Regions from separate parts of the Homo sapiens genome. Here regions 1, 2, 3, 4 and 5 are each linked to region 6. Evidence: promoter capture Hi-C in 16 types of primary human blood cells and fetal thymus (Javierre and others, 2016). All regions are on one chromosome and are shown on one strand. Each heading gives the region's core, a stretch centred on a gene start or on the middle of the fragment in contact. The rest is flanking DNA. Distances are from core to core; before and after follow the strand shown.

Region 1 (4,393 bases), core at 371-2,870, 310 kb after region 6:
ACAGCCAGTAATAATTAGTATAAGAGCAATGCAACTGGATTCTAGTATAAATAAAATAAAATATCTCCACTTTATTTCATTTCCTTTAGGCTTTCTTGCAGAATTTAGTGAATCAATTATTAAATATTAGTATCACTCATTGAGTTAGATAATCTACTATCTTCATTATTCTGGTCTTAACCTATTCACTCTCTTTGCCTGGACTGGTTTTTCATAGAGACACAACATAAATTGGCTGGCTAGATTTAAAGCTCTTCACCTTTAGGTATTTTCTTTACTATTCTTTTAAAAATATAATCCTTGCAAATTTAGACACCACAGAAAACTGTTATTTGCCTCATAATAGCCTCTTCAGTGTGTTTCACAGTCTTTTGTGGAAAATAATGACATAATGATAGTGTTCTCAAACCTATATTTCTACTTGATAAACTAGCAATTATATGATTAAAGCATTTTTAGAAACTCACATTAAGTATATGATACTCTAGAAACCAGTCCATCATGTAATTACACAGTCAGGGGAGAAATAATTTACATAACTAAAAACCATTTGAAACGCTGTTTCAAATCAAGACCAGTATGTGATTTTTTAATGAATAAAAATTTAAGAAATATTAAATTATACATATAACACACTTTAATGTTGATTGGAACTACACATTTTATATTTTATAAGTTGGGTTTAAACTATTATATTATAAAAGATTTTACTAAAGGGATTGGTAAAAAGAAGCTGTTAAACTCTATTGGAAACAAGTGTTAATGTGCTGAATACATTAGGATGAACCCAGATAAACCTGATGATTTCTCTTTAAATAAAACATATGCTTACTGAGAACAGAGGCAGGCAATGCTTAGGCATTTGAGCTCTGTAATGCACACAAATTTGCCAACGATTTTTCTTAGCTATATATTAAAGACTAATTTAACTAGAGCTTTGTGATTTGCTTGAATATCAAATCATTACACCAGCATTGTGCTGAGTTGTAAGAGATATAAATATATTTATACACATCATTTATGAGTCTTTTTAAGAAAGAAAAATAAAATATATTTATATCGAGTTACAGCTATAAAAAAAATCTATCTCTTTAAGGATACACAAGAAACCTACAGCACACATTACCTGTTTGTGGCCATGATGGGGAAGAATGTGTGAAAATTAAACAGCGGGATGGGAAGGAAAGAAGGCTTTTCACAGATATCTATATACTTTCTGGGTTTTGACTCATTTGAATATATTACCTACTCAAAAACTATGTCAATCATAAAAATGAAAGAAAGAAGCTTGGTCCCTGTGTGGAATAGGGACTGTGAGCTAGGTCAAGTATATTCTTTGCTAAGATACAAGGTGAGCTTTAAGAGTGAAAGGCACCAAAGTTAGATGCCCCTTGTTACTGGTGTATTCCACCACTACACTCCTCAGTGGCATTGGCTTGTATGTTTTCTAACTCAAGAGTAATAGGAAAACATGCCATATTTTATGTTATAATTATAGCAACATGGCAGAGTCAGGCCACCACAGGAAACTTGGGTATCCATGCCTGGTGATCAGCATAATAATACGTACTTTTGACAGTTTTTCACACAGATGGTGAGGAAACCAGTCATGGCCAACAACTAAGTACCACCATTCTATGTAATGCTTAACCTCAGCCCTCAGTAACGTCATTGGGACACCCATTCTCAAAACCTCTGCCATTTAAAGCACTACAAAGGGCTGAGAATAAAAATAAAGACAGCTAACAAAGTACACCCACAACATAACAACCATGCTGATCTCACCAAACTTATGTGCAATTATCTGGTTCTTCTAGATCTACACTTCCTGAGTCATTCATTTTGTGACTATGCTGGTATTTGGAAACAAGGTAAAAGAATTGTTAATTTGTGAGCTCTTGTATAAACGATAAATATGATTGAGAAACCATGTAACAGTAGTGTAAAGCTTCACAAATCCACCATACATAAGATGCTGTGGCTGCACTACAGCAATGGTAGGTAGTAAGAGATGACAACTTGCTAGCAGCCCTCGCTTGCTCTCCATGCCTCCTCGGCCTGGGTGTCCACTCTGGCCACACTGGAGGAGCCCTTTAGCCCACCACTGCGCTGTGGGGGCCCCTCTCTGGGGCTGGCCAAGGCCGGAGCCGGCTCCCTCTGCTCGTAGGGAGGTGTGGAGGAAGAGGCGCCCGTGGCAGCCGGGGCTGCGCAAGGCGCTCGCAGGCAGGTGCGGGTTTGGGGTGGGCGCGGGCTCCGCAGCCCCTGCACTCAGCTCGGCCTGCGGGCGCCTGCTGCGCTTGATCGTGGGAGGAGCTCCCTCTGGGCTGCCAGAGTGCCCTGGCTATGTACCCCAAAGTCCCGTGGGTAGTGCCATTGAGAGATGAAGCCGGCTGGGCTTTTGGGTCAGGTGGGGGCTTGGAGAACTTTTCTGTCTAGCTAAAGGATTGTAAATGCACCAATCAACACTCTGCGTCTAGCTAAAGGTTTGTAAACGCACCAGTCAGCGCTCTGTGTCTAACTAATCGGGTAGGGGACTTGGAGAACTTTTGTGTCTAGCTAAAGGATTGTAAATGCACCAATCAGCGCTCTGTCAAAACGGACCAATCAGCACTCTGTAAAACGGACCAATCAGCTCTCTGTAAAGTGGACCAATCAGTAGGATGTGGGTGGGGCCAGATAAGGGAATAAAAGCAGGCCACCCAAACCCTCTCCGGCAACCTGCTTGGGTCTTCTTCCACTTTGTGGAAGCTTTGTTCTTTTGCTTTTCATAATAACTCTTGCTGTTGCTCACTTTTTAGGTTTGTGCTGCTTTTATGAGCTGTAACACTCACTGTGAAAGTCTGCAGCTTTACTACTGAAGCCAGCAAGACCACGAACCCACAGGGAGGGACAGACAACTGGGAATGGGAAGAAGGAACAACTCTGGGTGCTTTGTGAACTGTCACTGTCACACTCACGGCGAAAGTTTGCAGCTTCACTCCTGAGGCCAGTGAGACAACAAACCCCACCGGAGGGAACAAACAACTCCAGATGCGCCACCTTTAGGAGCTGTAACACTCACCGCAAAGGTCTGCAGCTTCACTCCTGAAGCCAGTGAGACTATGAGCCCAACAAAAGGAAGAAACTCCGGACACATCTGAACATCTGAAGGAACAAACGCTGGACACACCATCTTTAGGAACTGTAACACTCACCACAAGGGTCTATGGCTTCATTTTTGAAGTCAGCGAGACCAAGAACCCACCAATTTCGAACACAGTAGGGCTGGAATTGCGAGCTATACTTTCTGTCACTTAGCAGCGAAGAGCCTGTCCTAAGACTAGTAAGTAGCAGGACTAGGACTCCCTCCCAGGTCTCTGAGCTCATGTTCACTGCTATTATCTGTCACGTGTTCAGCGTCAGGGTTTTTTCTCTTTTCCCAAGTAGCAAAGGCTTTTCACAATTGTGTTGCAAAGACCACACCAGAAACAAGACATACAATACTTGATAACATTTTCTGCTTCACCGATGGAGGACTACAACAACATGTGAGGTTTTCTGGCCTTTAATTTCTTTGAAAAGGTCAAAACTGTTAAAAAGGAACTACTTACTGTATTTTGCTAAAAAACATAAACATTGCAACATTTCAGCTTTCAACTTAGAACATAGGAACATTGCCTCCTGCGATTTTGATTTTAGATAACCAACTGCAAATTCTGATACAACTCCTGGCTGACCTTATCAGTTTATATCTAGGGATGTTCTAATTAAAAATAAAATTGAATTCATTTCTTTATCATACTTTTATACAACCATAGATTTCCCAACTTCCTACCACAGTAGGAGGCACTGTGGCAACGTATCAATATAAACACAGTATGGAAAATTCTAAACCAAACCTGATGGGAAATGCACATGATACTATTATTTGGGCTATGAAAAAAAAAAAAACAACCTTGAGGAAGTCTTTTCTGATTTTATTTTCACTGCACTTTGCTATATGCTGGTAGAGTTTCAGTACATGTGAGCGCTGAGGCCCTCAAAGTAAAAATATGGAGGTCTTGAGGTCAGACCAGCTACCCTGCTGTCATTCATTTCCTGTGCTAAGGTTACACTGAAGATAGTTTTAAAGCTTTGATGTAAACAGAGCAAGATTAAAAAGAAAACTTGAAGAAAACAAACTTTCAGGAAAATAAAGGCCATAATTATTACATTAAAAACTCTGCCCTTTGTGCCTTAATATGACATATCACAAAAATGCCATTTTAATTGTTTTACCATATATTTAAATGTTTTGTATTTGTTGTTATTCCCAGCAGCTAACAATAAGAAAATAGCAACATTAAGGTCAGTTTATTGTTTACTAGAAATCATGATTCTAATGAGCTCTGAAGAAAATGTTAATCATAATTCT
Region 2 (3,753 bases), core at 793-3,292, 420 kb after region 6:
TAGCATTGCATGCTTTTTACATGTTTATTAAAGTATACATATATAATATTACTAAGAGTAATATATAATACATCTACTGAAAGTAATATATATCACTAGTAAGAGTAGTTATTACTATTTAAAAAGTAATTCATATTTTTTATAAATACATTTTAAAATAAAGAACATGGTAACATTTCCATGACAATGACAAAAGCTGTGTTTAAGTTCAAAAAGAAAAATCAGCAGCTGACAGTACTACTGCAACCCTTGAAAGAATAGTTCAGAAAAAGGAATATACATTTATAGCCTTACATCATGCAAATCATAGTATAATAGGTGTAGGTTTTACTTTGTAGGTTTCACTTTTTACAATTCAAAAGGTTATCCCTTATATAGAATGCATATAAATATTAAAACAAAACAGTTATTTTGCTGTAATGTACATTAATTTTAAAATATGAATACTAACCATAAAGCACCTAAGTGATCCGAATAGTTTACAAATGACTTGTATATTTATTATGTAGCTTTTCCAAGGCGGATTTTGCCATTTATCTAAATAGAATCACCTAAAATATTAGTTGTCTTTCCCCTTTCTCTAATAGTTCCTAAATTAAAAGTATCAAACTAATCTTCCCTAATGTTAGTATTTCATATTCTTCAAATATGTTAACTTTTTAAATTCTTCAAATTTTTCAAATTCTAATTTTTTTCTATTACTCAAATCATTTCACCTGTTGAAAGCCACATTTGTTCATGGAAACTTGTTCTTTAGAAACCTGAATATAAATAGAAATGAAATAAAATTCAAGGTTCACACTAAACTTTAAGCTGGACATAAAATGGTATTCTGACATGCTAGTTCCAGGAAATTTCTTTTTAATTTTTTTTATTATACTTTAAGTTCTAGGGTACATGTGCACAACGTGCAGGTTCGTTACATATGTATACATGTGCCATGTTGGTGTGCTGCACCCATTAACTTGTCATTTACATTAGGTGTATCTCCTAATGCTATCTCTCCCCGCTCCCCCCACCCCACGGTAGGTCCCGGTGTGTGATGTTCCCCTTCCTGTGTCCAAGTGTTCTCATTGTTCAATTCCCACCTATGAGTGAGAACCTGTGGTGTTTGGTTTTCTGTTCTTGCAACAGTTTGCTGAGAATGATGGTTTCCAGCTTCATCCATGTCCCTACAAAGGACATGAACTCATCCTTTCTTATGGCTGCACAGTATTCCATGGTGTATATGTGCCACATTTTCTTAATCCAGTCTATCATTGATGGACATTTGGGTTGGTTCCAAGTCTTTGCTACTGTGAATACTGCCACAATAAACATACATGTGTATGTGTCTTTATAGCAGCATGATTTATAATCCTTTGGGTATATACCCAGTAATGGGATTGGTGGGTCAAATGGTATTTCTAGTTCAAGATCCTTGAGAAATTGCCACACTGTCTTCCACAATGGTTGAACTAGTTTACAGTCCCACCAACAGTGTAAAAGTGTTCCTATTTCTCCACGTCCTCTCCAGCACCTGTTGTTTCCTGACTTTTTAATGATTGCCATTCTAACTGGTGTGAGATGGTATCTCATTGTGGTTTTGATTTGCATTTCTCTGATGGCCAGTGATGATGAGCATTTTTTCATGTGTCTTTTGGCTGCATAAATGTCTTCTTTTGAGAAGTGTCTGTTCATATCCTTCGCCCACTTGTTGATGGGGTTGTTTTTTTCTTCTAAATTTGTTTGAGTTCTTTGTAGATTCTGGGTATTAGCCCTTTGTCAGATGGGTAGCTTGCAAAAATTTTCTCCCATTCTGTAGGTTGCCTGTTCACTCTGATGGTAGTTTCTTTTGCTGTGCAGAAGCTCTTTAGTTTAATGAGATCCCATTTGTCTATTTTGGCTTTTGTTGCCATTGCTTTTGGTGTTTTAGACATGAAGTCTTTGCCCATGCCTATGTCCTAAATGGTATTGCCTAGGTTTTCTTCTAGGGTTTTTATGGTTTTAGGTCTAATATTTAAGTCTTTAATCCATCTTGAATTAATTTTTGTATAAGGTGTAAGGAAGGGATCCAGTTTCAGCTTTCTACATATGGCTAGCCACTTTTCCCAGCACCATTTATTAAATAGGAAATCCTTTCCCCATTTCTTGTTTTTGTCAGGTTTGTCAAAGATCAGATAGTTGTAGATGTGTGGTATTATTTCTGAAGGCTCTGTTCTGTTCCATTGGTCTATATCTCCGTTTTGGTACCAGTACCCTGCTGTTTTGGTTACTGTAGCCTTGTAGTATAGTTTGAAGTCAGGTAGCGTGATGCCTCCAGCTTTGCTCTTTTGGCTTAGGATTGTCTTGGCAATGCGGGCTCTTTTTTGGTGCCATATGAACTTTAAAGTAGTTGTTTCCAATTCTGTGAAGAAAGTCGTTGGTACCTTGATGGGGATGGCATTGAATCTATAAATTACCTTGGGCAGTATGGCCGTTTTTACAATATTGATTCTTCCTATCCATGAGCATGGAATGTTCTTCCATTTGTTTGTGTCCTCTTTTATTTCGTTGAGCAGTGGTTTGTAGTTCTCCTTGAAGAGGTCCTTCATATCCCTTGTAAGTTGGATTCCTAGGTATTTTATTCTCTTTGAAGCAATTGTGAATGGGAGTTCACTCATGATTTGGCTCTGCGTCTGTTATTGGTGTTTAAGAATGCTTGTGATTTTTGCACATTGATTTTGTATCCTGAGACTTTGCTGAAGTTGCTTATCAGCTTAAGGAGATTTTGGGCTGAGACAGTGTTTGATAATCCTAAATTAAAGCGCTTGCCCAAAAATTGCAGTGGTTCTGAATCAGTTGGGAATAAGGAGGCATATTTAATAATTACATTTTTGCAACTTTGTTTTCTTTGCATGTCCAAATTACAGTGTTTCAAAGAGATGGTAAATTTTTCTTAGAAGAAAATAAATATCAAGTTAAAAAATCTGGAGTTAAGAATAAAGAATAAGAATAAAGAAATGGGTCAAATGAGACACTGACAAATGAGAAAGTCCTAAGATATAAAGATATTGAAAAATACTAAATGACTCAAATGTTTCTTTGAAACTTCATTATCTTATCCACGCTATCTACTACAGAGGTTCGTTAAATAGGGGCCATTTGAATAAGTTAGTCAAATGACTTTTTTGTAACCCATGTATATAAAAGGATAATATATATTTTTTATCAGATAGCAGAAGCTGGCTCTCCAGAGGAAAAAAATATTACCGATTAAAAATTAATGTTGGATACACGTTATTTTATGCAATTGCTACCAGGTGAGTAAGACCATATTCTATTTTACTTTTCCTTTGAAATAATGATGTTCGCTTTAGCCTTCATAACACACTACTTCAACAAAAAAAGTTAATTTTGCCCTCTAAACCCAAGAAAAGCTAGGCATAAAATTTGTTCAAAGGGAGACTAGCAACTTTTGCTTCTTCAGGGAATGAAAACCTCAGCAAAGTGATTATCCACAGTTTTTGGTTTCTAGATTTTCCTAATGGAGCACCTCCCTGAAGCTGGTTTTCCATTGCAGAATACTCTTAGATTGTAAGAACAGGCTACATGGCATTTCCAAAATGGCATTTGTGAGCCGGACAAACTTTTGAGTTAAACAGAAGCAACTGGCATTTTAAAAGTCACTAGTCTGGAAACATTTAATCAGGAAAGGAGCTGATTAAAATTAAACTGTTTCACAATCATTGTCTTATACTAGAATGAGTTAAGATTATTAACTTACGACTTCTT
Region 3 (4,153 bases), core at 1,595-4,094, 270 kb after region 6:
AGCTTCACTCTTGATGTTGTACATTCCATGGGTTTTGAAAAAATGTATAATGACATGTATCCACCACTGTAGTATCATAGAGAATAGTTTTACTGCCTTAAACATCCTTCATGTTCACCTATTTACCTTCCTCCTGGTAACCTTTAATCTTTTTACTACCTCCATAGTTTTGCCTTTTCCAGAATGTCACATAGTTGGAATCAAACAGTGTGTTGACTTTTCAGACTGACTTCTTTCTCTTAGTAATATGCATTTAAGGTTCCTCCATCTCTTTTCATGGTTTGATAGCTCATTTCCTTTTAGTGCTGAATAATATTCCATTGTCTGGATGTACCATAGTTTATCCATTTACTTAATGAAGGAAATCTTGATTGCTTTCAAGTTTTGGCAATTATGAATAAAGCTGCTGTAAACATTCATGTGTAAGTTTTTGTGTGGATATATGTTTGCAGTTCATTTGGGTAAATACCAAGGGGTGCTGTTACTGGATTGTATGGTAAGACTATGGTTAGTTTTGTAAAAACTGCCAAGCTGTCCTACAAAGTGGCCCTACCGTTTTGCATTTCCACCAGCAATGGGTGAGAGTTTTTATTGCACCATCTTCTCACAGCTTTTGATGTTGTCAGTGTTTGGGGTTTTGGCCATTATAATAGGGTTTGCAGTGATACCTCATTGTTGTTTTAATTTGCAGTTCCTTAATGACTTATGATGCTAAACATATTTCCATATGTTTATCTGCCATTGGTATATCTTCTTTGATGTCTAGGTCTTTTGCCCATTTCTTAATTGAATTGTTCCTTTTCTTGTCATTAAGTTTTACAAGTTTTTTGGATATTTTGAATAACAGTCCTCTACCAGATGTCTTTTGCAAATATTGTCTCCTACCCTGTGGTTTGGTTTGTCTTCTCATTCTCTTGACATTGACTATCTTAGGGAACTTTTTAATTCTAATGAAGTCCAGCTTATCAATTATTTCTTTCAAGCATAATGCCTTTGGTGTTGTATCTAAAAAGTCATTGCCATAGTCAAAAATCATTTAGATTTTTCCTATGTTATCTTCTAGAAGTTTCAGTTATGAGCTTTACATTTCTGTCAATGATTCATTTTGAGTTAACTTGTATGAAGAGTGTAAGGTCTGTGTCTGATGCATTTGTTTGCATGTGGATATCCAAGGGTCCCAATACTCTCAGCCATTCTTTTAATGACTGAGTTTCCAGGCTCTGTAAGATCCCAACGTTCCCACTCATGTTTTATTGTGAAACAGTTTTCCTGTTCATCTCACTAAGCCATCCTTGATTTTCCCAGAGGGTCTCATGTTTATACCCAAACTCACTGATTTAGTCACATCTAAGTATTTGAGATGTGGCCTGACTATATGTCCTCCATTAGAATACCTTAGCAAATATCTGGGTGGGAGAGGTGGTCAATGACTTTGTCATAATTTTGTTTCAACTCAGTTAAAACAGACTTAATACTATCATGTATGAAAATTATTGTTCCTGACAGCTTTCTGAGTTTCATCTTATGCTTCCTTCTTTCTTTTTTTCCCATGTTTTGTGAAATAAAGCCACAAAGAGGTTTAATAACTAAATTTTGCTTGAAGAATTTAAGAGAAGGGATTATTTACTGTGAGATACATATAAATGTAATAAATCTCTATATTTTACATTTAAAACTTGTTAGCCAATATTAGATACTTTCTTGATTATCACATTTCAAATTTTTATTGCTTTATCTTGATTACAGCAATTCTTAGCACTTCATTTTCTATGATTTTTTGAAATAATCAACTCACTGTAAAAAAAACAGTTTAATAAGTAAAAAAAAGCATCTTTCCATCTGTCTTCCAGCTTCAAGAGGGCATTTTAAAGAACAATTATTACATTTCCTACACTATGTAAGAAAAGATTTGAAAGTCCAATTATTGATATTTTGTTTGTAAGGTATAAAAGTTTGTTAATAAATTAAATATCATTTCTGTCCCATAAAATGTAAAAGGAAAGATAAAGTAGCAAGAGAAAGTAATCAATGGCTATCACAATATAACTGAACTCTCAGAAGTTTGAAGAGAGTATTAAAACAAAGTGGTTGTATAATTAAAGAGTTGAGAATTACATAATGAACCCTTTTTCTTGGAATTCCAACTACTATCAGGAACCATTAATTTTGGGCAAATGAAGTTCCACTAATGTTTCTTAGAGTCTTTAGCTTCAAGCTTCTGTAAAAATACACCTTAATTGATTTTGAAGATTTAGGAAGATTTCACAGACACTAATTCCTAATGAAATAGGAATAATCATTATTCATTTTGCTTCAACATCATTTGTTAAGGCTTTAGAACTATTGTAGCCAACAGTACTTATAAGTATTTATAAAGAGTTTGTCATATCCGGAGTTAGTCTGTTGTTTTCTGGCCTTCTGTGAAAGTAGGTAAACAGAAACATGAAAAATTAAATAAATTTTTATAGGTAAGGGAAGGCTAAAGACACAAAAGTAATCAATCTTAAGCTATCTTCCCTAGAAACTGTCTCCTTTCTACCAAGCTTCTTAAAAGCGTTTTCCAATTTTTTTAAAAAAAGATAAATGTCTAAATTTCAACCACAAGGGTAACATACAAACCTCAACACATTATTTTCCTCTGACAATTCAAGCAATAAATTGCTAAGGCTCTGTAAGACTGGCTCCAAATTAAGGGGTGATATCAATTTAGAAGACTAAAAAAAACTTTAATTTCATTACAGAATTAACGAGATTAATCATTCAGTTACCCTCTTTCCCTTATTTCTATTTAATTTTCCATATAGTTTAGATATTCTGTTATTTTTTCAATAATGCCTTTGTTTTTTCCAAATAAACAATGTAATGATCCCACAATTCTTTTCAAATTAAAGTTTTACAGCAAAACTGCCATTACCTCTTTATTTTCATTGCTTTTCTTCAGAAAACAAGTTTGAAAGTTAAATACCTCTACTATAAGCCAACAAATTAAGATCATTTCTTAAACTTGTGTGCAAAGCTCCATTTGAGGCCTCCTTTGCAAAAGCCTGATTACATTTGCATGCAATCAAAGCGATAACAATTCTCCTCCAAATTACTTTGGATCCCCACAACCATGTGGACATTAGTATGTAAAAACAAAAGCTTACTGAGTTTGGGGGGATTGTCCTATTCAGAGCCTTGGCTGCTTTAATTTGAAATGAGCTCCTCTTCATTTTTTTACCTACTGCAAACAAAGAGCTCCTAGCTTTTTAGTAGCAACATTGAGAAACAATTAAAGACTGGTGAGTAGCTTTTCAAGTCATCAGCCCAGCTGAGGAATCAGCTCTTGACAGCTGGACTGATGGAATATATGAGTAGTCAAAGGAAGCCCATAAGAACCATATGGAGTGACATACCACCACTTTCAACGTGCCCAAAGGAAACTCCCACAGCTGATGGTGTTCACACAGCTGTGGGTTATTAGGAAAGAGCCTTAAATGAATGAAGGAGCCCTCTTTAGGGTCATTCACTATCATAATCATGTTAACTAAAACCTGCTGGTGGTGAAGCAACTTAGTGGAGAAGGACAATACATCACTGTTTTTTGACAGCTGACATAAGCTACAGGGAGTTCTATCTCTTCTTTCTGTCTGTTTTGAGAAATTAATTTTGTGTCTGAGTTTTACAGTTATCTACTGGGGCTAATAAATGTGGCTTTTTACCTGACTTATATAGCTGTTAAAATTCTAAAATATGCCTTTATTAAACATCTTATTTGAATTACACACAAAAAAAATACAGTCTCTACAAATTTTCTTGAAAACCTCAAGTGAATAGTCAAATAAAATTATTTTCAGCCAACATGAGGATTTTGGAATACCATCATGCATAGCCAAGACTCCATTTGAAATGATTATGTAGGGTTAGGTGTACTTCTCCCCAAATTATTTCTTTGATGTTATTGATAATGGGTTAGAAATATATTACTGATTAACCAAATACAATCATTAAGTAAAAAATACCTTTAAGAGAAACTCAACCTAAAACTGTCATTTTACAATGGAGAAGTCAGTTTATTTTCCCCCATTGAATTTCAAGTATGCCATGTTCAGAAAAAAAAATTATAATAAAATAAGGATCACATATCACAGCCTTAAAATAACTGATGACTCCT
Region 4 (3,994 bases), core at 1,278-3,777, 480 kb before region 6:
GACATACTTCACACAAGGTCTGAGACAATTCCAAATATGTACCTGTTGCAACACCATCTTCCAGTCCCCAAATGCCAAATGCAAAAGGAAATCTTCCAGATGTATTTAGGCTCCACTTCACCTCCTCAAATTCAACATCATTGAAGTGAATAATAGAAAACACAGAATAATCCTTCATCACTATTCAAACAGGATTCTGCCAATATTTACTGTTTCTACCAACCACATTTGGTAAGATATGTGCTTCCTACTTTATTTCCAATAATCCTTGAACTGTTCCTAATCTAAGCAGTTAAAACGGTAACCTCCTTGTTCTGAGATTTATGGCCAAAGATACTTATGTAATCTTCCAACTATACCATATTTAGTAAAACAATATAATCTCCATGATCATCAAAAAGAGTACTACTGTGGTAAACAAACATATAACATTGTTCTTATCTGGCAAAAGCAACATACATCTGTTCTGAGGCATTAGATGTAGTCCTGGCTGATGCATTTTAAGAAATAGAAAATAAAGCCAGAAAATAGATACAAGGGGATCATAAACTGTAAAAGGGATGTTGATAATAGGTAGTGGGTTGGAAGAGACCTCATTCTGAAAGAAAAAAATGTCTAGTGTTTTTCTGAGTCAGAGTGATAGTTTATTTGAAGCCCTTAAAACCTCCTAAAGTGATGGATTGGAAACAACATCTTGTTCCTCAAATCCCAGTCATATTAGAAATATGAAATGCCCTTTGAAGACAGAAACATGAAGATTTAAGACACATACAGGAGAATGATTTACCCAAGCAAGGCAATGCATAATCTGATGCTACAAAACAGTAGTGTGAGAAGGCCTGCTTCCAAACTCTAAACATTTGAAGATCCAAAGCCTTCTTTGTTTTATATTGTTTCCTCTACCTTCAGCTCAAGTTAATACATTCTTTAAAAATCCTTGTAGATTTCTGTGTATCAATTGATAACCAACTCCGTTAGACAAAAACCAAATTTGCAAAGCTCTTCAAGATAAGCCCTTATCTATTTGGGGTTTTCTTGAGACTCCTATGGGAATATATCCTTAGGAGTCTTGGGCACTTGAGCACCCAATTATTTAACAGAGAAGAGATGGCCAGGCAGGCCTTAAGATCCATAAAAATACCTTTTTCTGTTTGAAATGTTTTGTGAGCCACTCTCTTAAATCTTTCTTAAGTACTAACAAAGAATCTTATGGATCCACCCTTGATTTTATCTTTTCCAGAGCCATTTTTAATTTAGTAATTGTTTTTAGAGGATCAGGGCATAAGACACAATTTTATTTCAAACCTGGCAAGTTCTGACTCTTTTATATTTAAAGGTTATTTTTAGCTCATCTCTCTTGTCTCACATTTTATCATAGGTGATGAAAAAAAAATCAGGTGGCATTTTGAATATTCTGCCTGGAAATCTTAACTAGATCATTGAGTTTAGCAGGTATATTTCCACTTTGCCACATTAACACAGATGATTATGTTGGCAAACTCTGTGCCGTCATCCAACAAGGCTTCCCATTCCTTTAGCTTCCAATACCATTGTCCTCACTTTCCTTTAAACCTTCACTGAGAGCCTCCTCAAGGTCTTTCAGGTTTCCACTAGCAGTCTACTTGAGAGCCTTTGGTTTTCACTAAGCATCTCTTCAAAGCCCTTCCAGCTGCTTCCCACAGTCCAGGCCCAAAGCCAATGCCCAAATATAGGGTTTTGTTATGGCAGCATCCTACTTCTAGATACCAAAATTTGTCACAGATATCTATGCGCACATAAAGTATCCTGAAAGCTTAGTGTCTTGAAGCAACAGCAATCATTCATTTCGTTCATGAATTCACAATTCAGGCAGGGCTTAACAGGGACAACTTGTTTCAATTCATTGTGATATCACCTGGGGTGGCTTGACTAGCGGTGGAGAATCCACGTTCATGATAACTTTCTCATATGATTGGCGATTTGGTGCTGTCTGTTGGCTGGGAGTTCCTCCAGGGCCAAAGGCCAGAAGCTTCTGTCTTCCTCCATGTAGGCCTCTTCCCAGGCTTCTTGGTCTTCCTGACAGTATGATGTTTGGGTTCCAAGACCAAGAATTCAAAGAGAATCAGATAAAAGTGCATGGCATTTTTCATGTTCTAACCTTGAAAGTCACAGGTTATTACCTTCACCACATTCTATTTTTCATATTGTTCAAAAGCAGTCACAGAGACCAACCAGTTGCAAGAGGAGGAAGACATACAGACTACAGTTCTTAATGAGGAAATTGCAAAGTTTTAGAAGAGTAGTTGGGATAGGAGATTCTTTTGGACCTATCTTTAAAAAATATAATCTGCCACATTAAGTAAACAAAGAATTGCATAGAGACATTAATAATTCAGAGGATATATTTTTTATCAATGATGTCAAAATTATGGAGAAGAATTAAACACTCCATAATATAGCTCTTCTTCTTCCCTGACAGTAAACAAAATATATCTAGATGGATTATAGATCTGACCGAGTTTGGAAATCCTTATGTTCATAAAGTGGACATATTCTTGTAAAACATTATCATACTAAAATTTAAATAATTACATATCTCAATAAAAATTATCTGTTGTTTTTAATAATGGAGGAAAAGTCAATATTTTCCATTTAGTTCAACTCCATTTAACAAATATTTATAGAACACTTACTACATACCAAACACTGTGCTAGGTATATGATAGTAGGTAAGGCATGTTTCTGTCTTATTATAATTGGGAAGACTAAATGGTTAATTGCAATATAGTATAATAAATGAAAAAAATTAAAAGATATGTACTACACACACATGAAAATAAATAGAATCGGACCATTAACTTACACCATGTACAAAAATTAACTCAACAGGAATAAAATACATAAATTTAAGAGCTAAAATTATAAAATTCTTAGGCAATAAATAAGAGTAAATCTTTATGACCTGGGCTAAGCAATGGTTTCTTAGATATGACACCAAAATGCAGATGCAACAAAAGACAGAAATAGATCAATTAAATTTTATCCAAACTAAAATCTTTCAAGCTTCAAAGCACACTATCAAGAAGATGAAAAGACAACCCATAAAATAGGAGAAAAATGTTGCAAATCCTGTATCTAAGGAACTTGCATCTAAGGAACTTGCACCTAGAAAACGTAAAGACTTCACATACTCAATAATAGGAAGACAAATAACTCACTTTAAAAACAATGGTTAAATGATGTAAGCAGACATTTCTCCAAAGAAGATATATAAATGCCCAATAAGTGCACAAAAAGATGCTCAACATCATTCAGGGAAATGCACATGAAAACCACGATGAGCTACCACCTCACACCTGCTAGAATGGTTAGAATAAAAAAAGACTGACCACTACAAGTTTAGCAAGGATGTGGAAAAATTGCAACCCCCATACATTACTGATGGATGTAGAGTTGTTCAGTCACTTTAGAAGACAATCCTTGGCCAGGTGCAATGGCTCATACCTGTAATCCCAGCACTTTGGGAGGCCAAGGTGAGTGGATCACGAGGTCAGGAGATCAAGACCATCCTGGCCAACATGATGAAACCCTGTCTGTACTAAAAATACAAAAATTAGCTGGGCGTGGTGGTGTGTGCCTGTAGTCCTAGCTACTTGGGAGGCTGAGGCAGAAGAATCACTTGAACCCAGGAGGTGGAGGTTGTAGTGAGCCAATATTGCACCACTGCACTCCAGCCTGGGTGACAGAGCGACACTCCATCTCAAAAAAAAAAAAAAAAAAAAGACGATCCTCAAAATGTTAAACATAGAGTTACCATATGACCCAGCAAATCCACTCCTAGCTGTCTACGCAAAAGGAATGAAAACACGTGTCTTTAGAAAAACTTGCACATAAATGTTCATAGCAGCATTATTTATAATAAACAAAGAATGGAAAGAACCCAAATGTCCCAAATGTCTATCAGCTGATAAATAGGTAAACAAAATGAGGGCATATTCATATAATGCCGGCATGT
Region 5 (4,002 bases), core at 555-3,054, 330 kb after region 6:
CTACCACAAATTATTCATGCAACAAGTCTTAATACACTCTATGCGCCTGTTCAACTCCAGGAATAGAGCAATGAACAAAACAAAGTTCCCACTTTCCTAAAGAATCCATTCTAGTGGAGGGGACAGGCACTAATTTAATATGTAACATAATGTTATATTTTTATGAAGCTAAACAAGGGGATACAAAGTTACAGGAAATTTCTTATTACTTTAAATGGGGTAGCCAGGGAAGAGCTCTCTGAGGAGGTATTTGATCAGAAACCTGAATGACTTGAGGGAGTAAGCCATGAGGCCTGTTAAGAGAGGAGCAATCCAGTCAGAAGGAACAGCAAGCAGCAAGCACCCGAGTTCTGAGGGAGAGATACTCAGCGAGACTGGGAACACTTGTGAATGCCACTACAGTAAATGCAGAGTGACAGAAGGGCAGGAAAAGGGACCAGACATATATCTTGCCCAAGGTCCAGGTGATGCAGTGCCTGGTAGGCTATAGAAGGAACTTCAGCAAATGCCACAATAAATATCCACATATATTGCTAGATTCATCTCCAAAAAGGCTATCAGAACTCACATTTCTATGAGCAGTCTACAAACATAGGCAGCCAGGTTCCAAAGTCTATGCAGCAGCTGTTTGTCAGCCGTTTCAGTTTGCTTTTAAAAAACATTTATCTATAACTTGAAAAAGTATTAGGAGAGTGAAATATCTGTATATAAAAGCTACACAAATGCAAATATTCTTGTTAGTTTATCACATCTGTCAAACCCAGAAAGCTCTGTATATTAGACCCATCAGTGGGAAACCAGACAGTTTCACAGTGAAAAAAAATCTCCATCTGAGAAAAATAAAATAAAATTCTGGTATAATCTCTGGTCCAGTTACCTCTGGAGAAATAGTTGACAGGACTAGAACTGGGGACTACAAATTGGCAGTGGCCACACACAGCTATAGGACAGAATAAGTTGCTAAGAGGCCTAACATGTATCATCATGAGATAGAATTTTCTAGGTTGGAAGGAAATGGTCTTTTTAATATGCCAAAATGTTGACTTTCAACTATAATCATAATAAAGCAATTTATATCAATAAAAATACATAAAATGGGTAAAAATAAAAGCTAAAGGAACTTGTTTTAGTTATTATTGTCCAATCTTTTCTTAAAACCTCTGGTTTCATCTTCTTCCACTGACATCTTACATTCTGTGAAGGAGGAAGTAGGGGGGATGGAAACGGCTTTAAAGAAGCACAAAAGGCCTGAAGGTCAATAGGGAGGCAAATACTCAAAGAATGAGAACCGCAGATATCTAATAAAGTCTATGTTGCCTTTTCATGCAAAAGGCATAAGGAATGCTTAATCATCTAATATTTACAATGTAGGAAAAAGCTATTTCACGTTGAAATTTGTAGCATTTTTGGGTGATTATGAAACCCTCATTTAAAATAGCCATGTATCCTCTATTTAGCAAACCAAGACTACAAGAAATCTTAGACATGATATTAATACCCCAAAGTTTAAAACTCCAGATGTGAAGAAAAGCCAGAGAATGCCTGCTGTGTAATAAGGCCTATATCTCTTTGGAATCATGGATTTAATTAAGTTTCAATTTGCATCTTGGGCAAAAAGATAGACTGTTAGAATGAAACAAAAAGAAAGAGGGAAAAAGCCTTCTAAAAAACAAAGTGTCAATAAAATTTTAGTTATATTCTCTAGCCATCATTTGGCTTTTAAAATTCTGATAACATTCCCTCAAAAAACAAAGCATTTCCTTTTGTCTAGACAACATAACCTGCTTCTGTCTCAGATAGGCCACTTGGGAACCCAGGATCTGACTCATTTCCCTCACACCATATATGATTCCATATAAAACAGGGCTATATGTCCCTTCCACAGCCCAAATAGGGATCCCCAAAAGGCGGTGCTTCCTATCATTCTTGGGCCAATGTTTTCACCAAGTTCTGTTTGAAAATGTATTTGTTCCTGTTTTCTTTGCACTTACCTTGTGAGGTCTCATCTCCATGACATCTGACAGTGGCTTTGGGTGTTGCCTAAAGAGAAAGCAGCAAGCAACAGTTACAGAGGTGGTTTCCTGTGGAGCAGGCAACTTAACACAGCTAAGTTCAGGTCATTCTCTGAATACTAAAACTGAGAAGTCAACGATAGTGTAATATCAGATAGCTAAATGTTTTCACTATACCCACACATGTAGTAAAGAATTTAGGCTGCTGAATTTTCTTTAACTACAGGGTTCTGCTTTTCAAAAAAAATGTTTTCAACTTACAAAGACTTTTATAACAGACTGCCTTTTTGAGAAAGGAAAGCCTTCTTTCTTTATATTATCCAGGAACCATTATACGCATCCCATAGAATGTATTGCTGATACTTCTTAGAAGTATCTTCAGAAAAGGGTCTTATCTTATATTTATTATCTTATATTTATTTATATATTTATTATATTATATTATATGTTATATATAAATATATTATATATTTATATAATTATATATTATATATTTATATATAAATAAATATATTATATTATATATTATATAAATATTTATATTTATATATAATGTATATAATATTATTATATATTATATATATTTATTATATATATAATTAATATATAATAAAATTATATATTATATATATTTATTATATATATAATTAATATATAATAAAATTATATATTATATATAAATATATTATATATTTATATAATTATAAATTATATATTATATATAAATAAATATATTATATTATATATTATATATAAATAAATATTTGTATTTATTTATATATAATATATAAAATATTTATATATTATAAATAAATATAAGATATAAAATACCAGTAAAATGTGTTCCTAGGAGTTGAATATATGCATGCATATGGCATTTGCTTGTTTGTTCATTGATTCATTTATTCATTCAATGAATTTACTGAACATATATTGAGTTTCTCTTTTTTGTGCCCTGAGGATATAACCACAAATAAGACATAATCTCTGTCCTCAATAAGTTCATAAAATCTTATGATTTTATGGGAAATCACAAGATGGGAAAAGAAAACTGGACAAATAATTATGAATATTATGTGAGAATTACAACAATAGGAATTTATATAGAATACATTGGGCCTCAAGTGGGGAAACGGGCATTCTAATTAGCGTAAAAGAGCTGATCAAAGGAGTTGATTCTTGAACTGTGGTAAAGAATATTGTGTGGTCATTTTTCATGCAAGGAAGTGCATTCCCAGCTGGGAGTCTAGCATATTCAAAGATCCAGAGGCACAAAACAATATAGCACTTTCTGGTAACTGTAGCTAGTTCTATATTGATAGAGTGTAGAGGACTCTAAAAAGGAATAAGACTGAGATATTAGCAAAATGATTTTTAACATCAGGAGGCATTTCTTTCAGAGAACAAAAATAAATAACAAGTATATCCATGAAATACTTCTTGAGAAATATTTTGGTTAAAGATTGAACACTTTGAAGAACAATTAAGTATGAAGCACTTCAATACTTTGGCTCATGTCTGAAAAATACATAGATATTGCATATTTTCACAATGGCAAATATTCAGACTAAGTGCTAACACATGAAGCTGAACTAGATTATAAAATACTAATCTCTTTTGAGGAAACTATATTTTTATGTATCAGAATGGCTTAGAGCCAATAGAAAATTACAGCCTGTATAATAGTGTCTGGCACAGAGTAGGCTCTCAACAAATAGGTGTTGATGGAAATACCACATTGAGGCAGCTTTTGGCAAACAAAGAAATGCTTTGGGCACCAACCCAGGCTCTCCAGCTTAAAACTGTTACTGCTCCTTCTGCAATTAGAGACTTTTTCCCTTGTGATTCATAGAGTTGCATTCATTATATCTCTTTTTGGTCTCTGCTCCTAACTAACCTTCCTCCTAGCTCACACCTACCTAGAGATACCTGAAAATGTTTTCTCTAGGTATGTCTGGGCAGGTTCGAAGGATATAGCTATTATATCATT
Region 6 (4,313 bases), core at 876-3,375:
TGAATTCATCTGAATGAAGGGAACCAGCTTCACAGTTTGAAAAAGAGCAAAGACTACTATAAAATACAAAAGAAGTTAAAGATCCAATAACTAATCTCAAAAGTCCATTTATAGCAAAGAAATATAAAGAAGTACCAATTTTATTCACCGTTTACAGATGACCCATCAGCTCAGCAGACAACATATTAAACCATTCACTTAATTTTATTTGCATTGAAGATACATACATGGAAGAAAATGGCTTAGACTTTGGACGCATTCAGACCCTAGTTTGACTTTAGTTCCCACCTATCAGTCACTAGCTAAGTAACTTTTAAAAAGGTATTTGCAACTCTGAGCCACAGTCCTCATACATAAACTAGGAACAATGTCAACCATGACCCAGGGTTGCTTTAAGGGGAAAAAAGTTAAGCAATATATATAGCAGTAACACTTTGGAACAAGATAGGTCTTGTTATTTAATATTCCTTCCTCTTTCCCCACTTGCCTGTGTGCAACAAACTTGTCTTTGGCTTTGAAACATGAAACTTCTCCCCTCTATCAGTACACATTTTTCAACTTGTCACAAATCTGAGACATTGAGAAATGACTGCAAAAAGATGGACCCATATAACATGAGTTTTGGATGACGGTTTTGGGAATGGAAAATTATACTACATTAACGATGAAGATGCCAATTTTCCTTTTCTTTTAGATTGTATATTGTAAGTAAAACTATCACTTTTTTTTTTAGGCCTTTAGGTTAAACGACGGGATATGGGATCAATTCCAATTGCTATTCCTGATATGCTCCTTAGCCTGTTCTTTAAGAGGGTTGATAGGTCAAAGATGGAAATAAAATTCTCAAGTCTTGGCTTAGCTGGATCCTGTCCTTAATACGCTGAGAGAGTCTAAAATGTGCTTTACACACGGAGAGACGGGGAGAGATGAAGAGAAGGTATCATAAGAAATTTCTCTAGCATAGTTGTCAGAGTACTGCAATCATTGCCATAAGGAAAAGGGAGAACGATATTAACAGAAAGGGAATCCCTTTTATATTAAGGAGGCAAGATGAGATGGAGTTGAAACTGAAAACTTTATGCTCTTTAAACCAGAAGTAACAGGCAACGTGAATCTTTCCAGGACTTGCCCTATGGTGGGGTCCACATGGGGGGTCGGGAGGTCACTAACTCCTGGTCCCATACCCAACTCACCCAGCTGGAGCTGTTCGCACGTCTGGCCGGGATTCTTTCCGATCCTGCATCTGTAAATCGCCCCGGGATTGATCACTGAAGCGTTGGCGAGCCAGTTGGCAGTGGGCGCACCCACTAGGAGCCTAAAGCGAGACACGTGCACGTGCGCTCAGACGTGAGCTGTGCTGCCCACTGAGCTCCCTGTCGCCACAGATGTGCAGTCCGCAGCAGGGCAGCTTCCCCACCTCCTCCTCCGCCCACCACCCCCGACTCGAAGCTCCAAGACCTTGCACCATAACGCACCCGGGGCGCTGCCGCCCCAAGATAAGTTAGTTTCCCTGGCAGATTTCCAGCGAGCTGGCTCTCGCAGCGTTTCCCTCCTGCCTCCTTGGGAGGGAGGAAAGTTTGAATCGGGCAGGGAATCCCTAGGGCGCCATTCTCACGCCGCTCTGAGCTGCTGAGGGCGCATCAGTCCAACTCTACTCACCATCGGTTCGCCCCGTGGCTGTGCAGCACGACCGAGTAGCCGAACAGCGTGTTGTGGGGGCCCTGGTAAAGCAGCGCGCTCTCAGTGTCCACGTTGTAGGGGCGGCCGGTCGGGACCCCCAGGCACAGCAACAGCATCACCGTCTCCCGGACGGCGGCCCTTCGGGGGCCGGGTTCGCGCCTCGCTTCCCAAGCCATGCGCTCTCGGTGGGGAACATTCAACACTAAACGGCCACTACCCCAAAGTTGCACGGGATGCGACGGTTGGCCAACGGGGAAGAACGCCCCAAGAGATGAGGCGCAGCGTGTCCGGCGCCAGCGGGCTAAAGGAAGGAGAGAGGGAAGAGGAGGGGAAGTCGGCCCACCGCGGGCGGAGCGTTCGGGCCGGCCTGGGATGCCGCGCACTCGCCCGGCCCCACTCCCGGTTTCTGCCGCCAGCCGGGAGCTTCGGGTGCTCGCGCTGCTTCTCCGGGTACGGGCCGCTGGGTGGGGTCCCGGGCGTGGTGCGGAGGCGCAGGGCCGGGCTCCGTCTCTGCCTACGCGCGGCTGCAGGGGGCGCTGGGGAACCTCGGCTGCGCAGGACTCGCGTCCTGGCCCGGGCCTCCCAGCCCGCAGAGCGCGGGATGGCTCTGGGCTCAGCAAGAGCGGACCTGATGGGGCACGGGCTTCCCCTTTTAACGGTGGTTGGGGCCTAGAAGCGGAGCTGTGTGACCCCAAACTGCGCGCCCCTCGCTGTGACCGCCCAGCCCGGCGTGGCCCAAATGCCAGCCACAAACTCGGGGAGTGGGACTGCGGCGGGGAGCCGTCCAGTTCTTTCGTTGATAGTTAAACACTGTGTCTTGTTTTTCAGGTGTAGGCAACCACTAGATAAATTATCAAGAGCCACAGATTAAAAACAAAAAACCAAACAAAAAGACTCGCCGAAGGCCCCTGGGGAACATTTTAGTGACAAAGACGTTATGGCTATTCTCTTCAAGACCCACATCTCAGCACCCTTCTATACCCACTTCCTTCCTCCCCACACTTCCTCTGCAGCCCGGGCTGCATGCGTGAGCAGGCTAGCAGCAGCCTCTCAGGCTGAACGGCAGGCGGTTTAGGCTGTGGCTGACCCCAACAGAGAGGTTGGGTTAAGGAAGCACTGTGACTTGATTCACTTTAACCGATTCGGATTGCTCCAGCTGGTAATTGATGATCCCCCCTTTTCACGCACCCACTCAGTTGCCACGGGACACACCTGCTTTTAGGGGTGTAAACCCCAGTGTGGGGTCAGGGTCCTAATGAGCCTCTGAAATGTGCCGGAGACCCACAACGCAACACACCTGAACTGGGTAGTGAGTCTCATTCTAATGCAATCCAGGTGTGCCCTGCCTTTTTTTTTTTTTTCCTTCAGCAACCAGAGAGACAGCCATAGGTGATTATTAGACTGATATTTTCAGGAGATGAAAGTCTAGTTTTTTATTGTTGCTATATGTAAAAAGAAAAGAAAAGTCTGCATCAAAGAGTGTGTCTGTGTGCTAAAACCATGCTGGAATAAATAACACATCTGACACTAATGACAGATACACAATTAAAATGCTTATTCATTTATTCAGCACATTCATGGAGCAGGCACTTGACTAGGACCACAGGATTCCACCAAGAGTAAGGCAGGACTGATACAAAGTTTCAAAAAATGTTCGCTCCAATGGTAGATAGAAAAATTTGTACTAACTAGAGAAAGATCCAGGTAAGGACACTTAAAGAGAGATTTGAAGGACCAGGAATCTTGAATCAGGCTAAGAATGGGATGAGCAATAAGGAGGGCTCCAGAGGAGCCAGGTAGAAGAACTGAGAGAGCTTGCCTGGCTAGAGTATTTAGCCACTCCACACACAGGTTGGTGTGATATGAGGCTGACTTAGGGAAGCAGGAATACATGGTGAACCTCATGAGCCAGGTTAGGAATTTTAAATCTATGTTGGGACTGACAGGAAGTTGAAGAATTTGTCTCGGTCAGCTCTGGGTTTCAGAAGTGTGAATGCAAGACTGAACACAGAAAACCTAATTTTGGAAGCCCCTGCAGCAATAAGTAGAGATAGGATAATCCCAAGGGGAAGTATTTCTCTTTCTTGAAAGAGAATGGTGCTACCATTCATGGAGAAAAAAACACTGAGAAATGAAGTTATATGCATGTATGTGTGCATGCAGATGGGGGCATGGATGGGTTAAGTTTTAGCCATGTGGAGTTTGAGATGTTTATGGAATGACAGGATATTCTAGCCAAACTCAATGCAATTATTTTCAGTCTGTCAACAGACAAAACATGAGGAATATTAACTTTCTCTTACTCTATACTGGAAAAAGTCAATACAGTGTGTGATAAATCTATTGTAAAAATGAAATGGCTTCCAGAAAGCTAACAATCAGGGCCCATGGCTGTTTCTTTCTGTAGTAGTGCTGAGTGTGTTTCTTTCTTAGTAGATCTACATGCTGATTTTAACCCAGTTCCACAATGAGCTTACAGTGTCGTTATTCTGAACTATGCAATCCTTCTTGTTTACAGCTACAAAACCTCCAGTTGAGGCCAAGGAAGTAGGTATGTTGAAGCCATTCTGACACCCTCCAGAAACTGGCAAAGCCAGATCTTCTGATCTGAACCCCTACCAGTTTCTTTCCCT

Evidence for each region. Contacts are between HindIII fragments. The CHiCAGO score rates a contact against its expected background, and 5 or more counts as called.
Region 1: a contact is called between a fragment that was not itself captured here and the fragment with the promoter of ITGA4 in region 6, in 16 of 17 cell types (total CD8 T cells, naive CD8 T cells, non-activated CD4 T cells and 13 more). The highest score is 35.8, in total CD8 T cells.
Region 2: a fragment that was not itself captured here is called in contact with the fragment with the promoter of ITGA4 in region 6 in 2 of 17 cell types (total CD4 T cells and naive CD8 T cells); the score reaches 5.5 in total CD4 T cells.
Region 3: a fragment that was not itself captured here is called in contact with the fragment with the promoter of ITGA4 in region 6 in 16 of 17 cell types (naive CD8 T cells, total CD8 T cells, total CD4 T cells and 13 more); the score reaches 25.0 in naive CD8 T cells.
Region 4: a contact is called between a fragment that was not itself captured here and the fragment with the promoter of ITGA4 in region 6, in 1 of 17 cell types (fetal thymus). The highest score is 5.4, in fetal thymus.
Region 5: a contact is called between a fragment that was not itself captured here and the fragment with the promoter of ITGA4 in region 6, in 14 of 17 cell types (total CD8 T cells, naive CD8 T cells, total CD4 T cells and 11 more). The highest score is 30.0, in total CD8 T cells.

Annotation. Positions count from the first base shown.
Region 1 is chr2:181,143,637-181,148,029 of GRCh38, reverse strand. The region is part of intron 1 of LINC01934 (long intergenic non-protein coding RNA 1934); the gene reads right to left. Among named protein-coding and RNA genes, the nearest start is that of LINC01934, 22 kb to the right of the region's middle. The HindIII fragment of the contact is 661 bases long and covers 1,290-1,950 here.
Region 2 is chr2:181,031,797-181,035,549 of GRCh38, reverse strand. All of the region lies in intron 3 of UBE2E3 (ubiquitin conjugating enzyme E2 E3), which reads right to left. Among named protein-coding and RNA genes, the nearest start is that of UBE2E3-DT, 53 kb to the right of the region's middle. The HindIII fragment of the contact is 4,155 bases long and covers 1-3,753 here.
Region 3 is chr2:181,190,187-181,194,339 of GRCh38, reverse strand. The region is part of intron 1 of LINC01934 (long intergenic non-protein coding RNA 1934); the gene reads right to left. Among named protein-coding and RNA genes, the nearest start is that of LINC01934, 68 kb to the right of the region's middle. The HindIII fragment of the contact is 598 bases long and covers 2,546-3,143 here.
Region 4 is chr2:181,939,557-181,943,550 of GRCh38, reverse strand. No RefSeq gene overlaps it. Among named protein-coding and RNA genes, the nearest start is that of PPP1R1C, 44 kb to the left of the region's middle. The HindIII fragment of the contact is 1,034 bases long and covers 2,011-3,044 here.
Region 5 is chr2:181,121,970-181,125,971 of GRCh38, reverse strand. LINC01934 (long intergenic non-protein coding RNA 1934) reads right to left here and starts at 2,135. Exons shown (of 5, transcript NR_130784.1): 1 at 1,992-2,135. RefSeq lists an enhancer at 1,769-1,868. The HindIII fragment of the contact is 8,385 bases long and covers 1-4,002 here.
Region 6 is chr2:181,455,198-181,459,510 of GRCh38, reverse strand. It overlaps ITGA4 (integrin subunit alpha 4), which reads right to left and starts at 2,125. Exons shown (of 28, transcript NM_000885.6): 1 at 1,660-2,125; 2 at 1,194-1,315. The coding sequence starts at 1,856. RefSeq lists enhancers at 1,079-1,128, 1,489-1,538, 1,599-1,788, 2,509-2,618 and a silencer at 1,939-2,328. The HindIII fragment of the contact is 9,740 bases long and covers 1-4,313 here.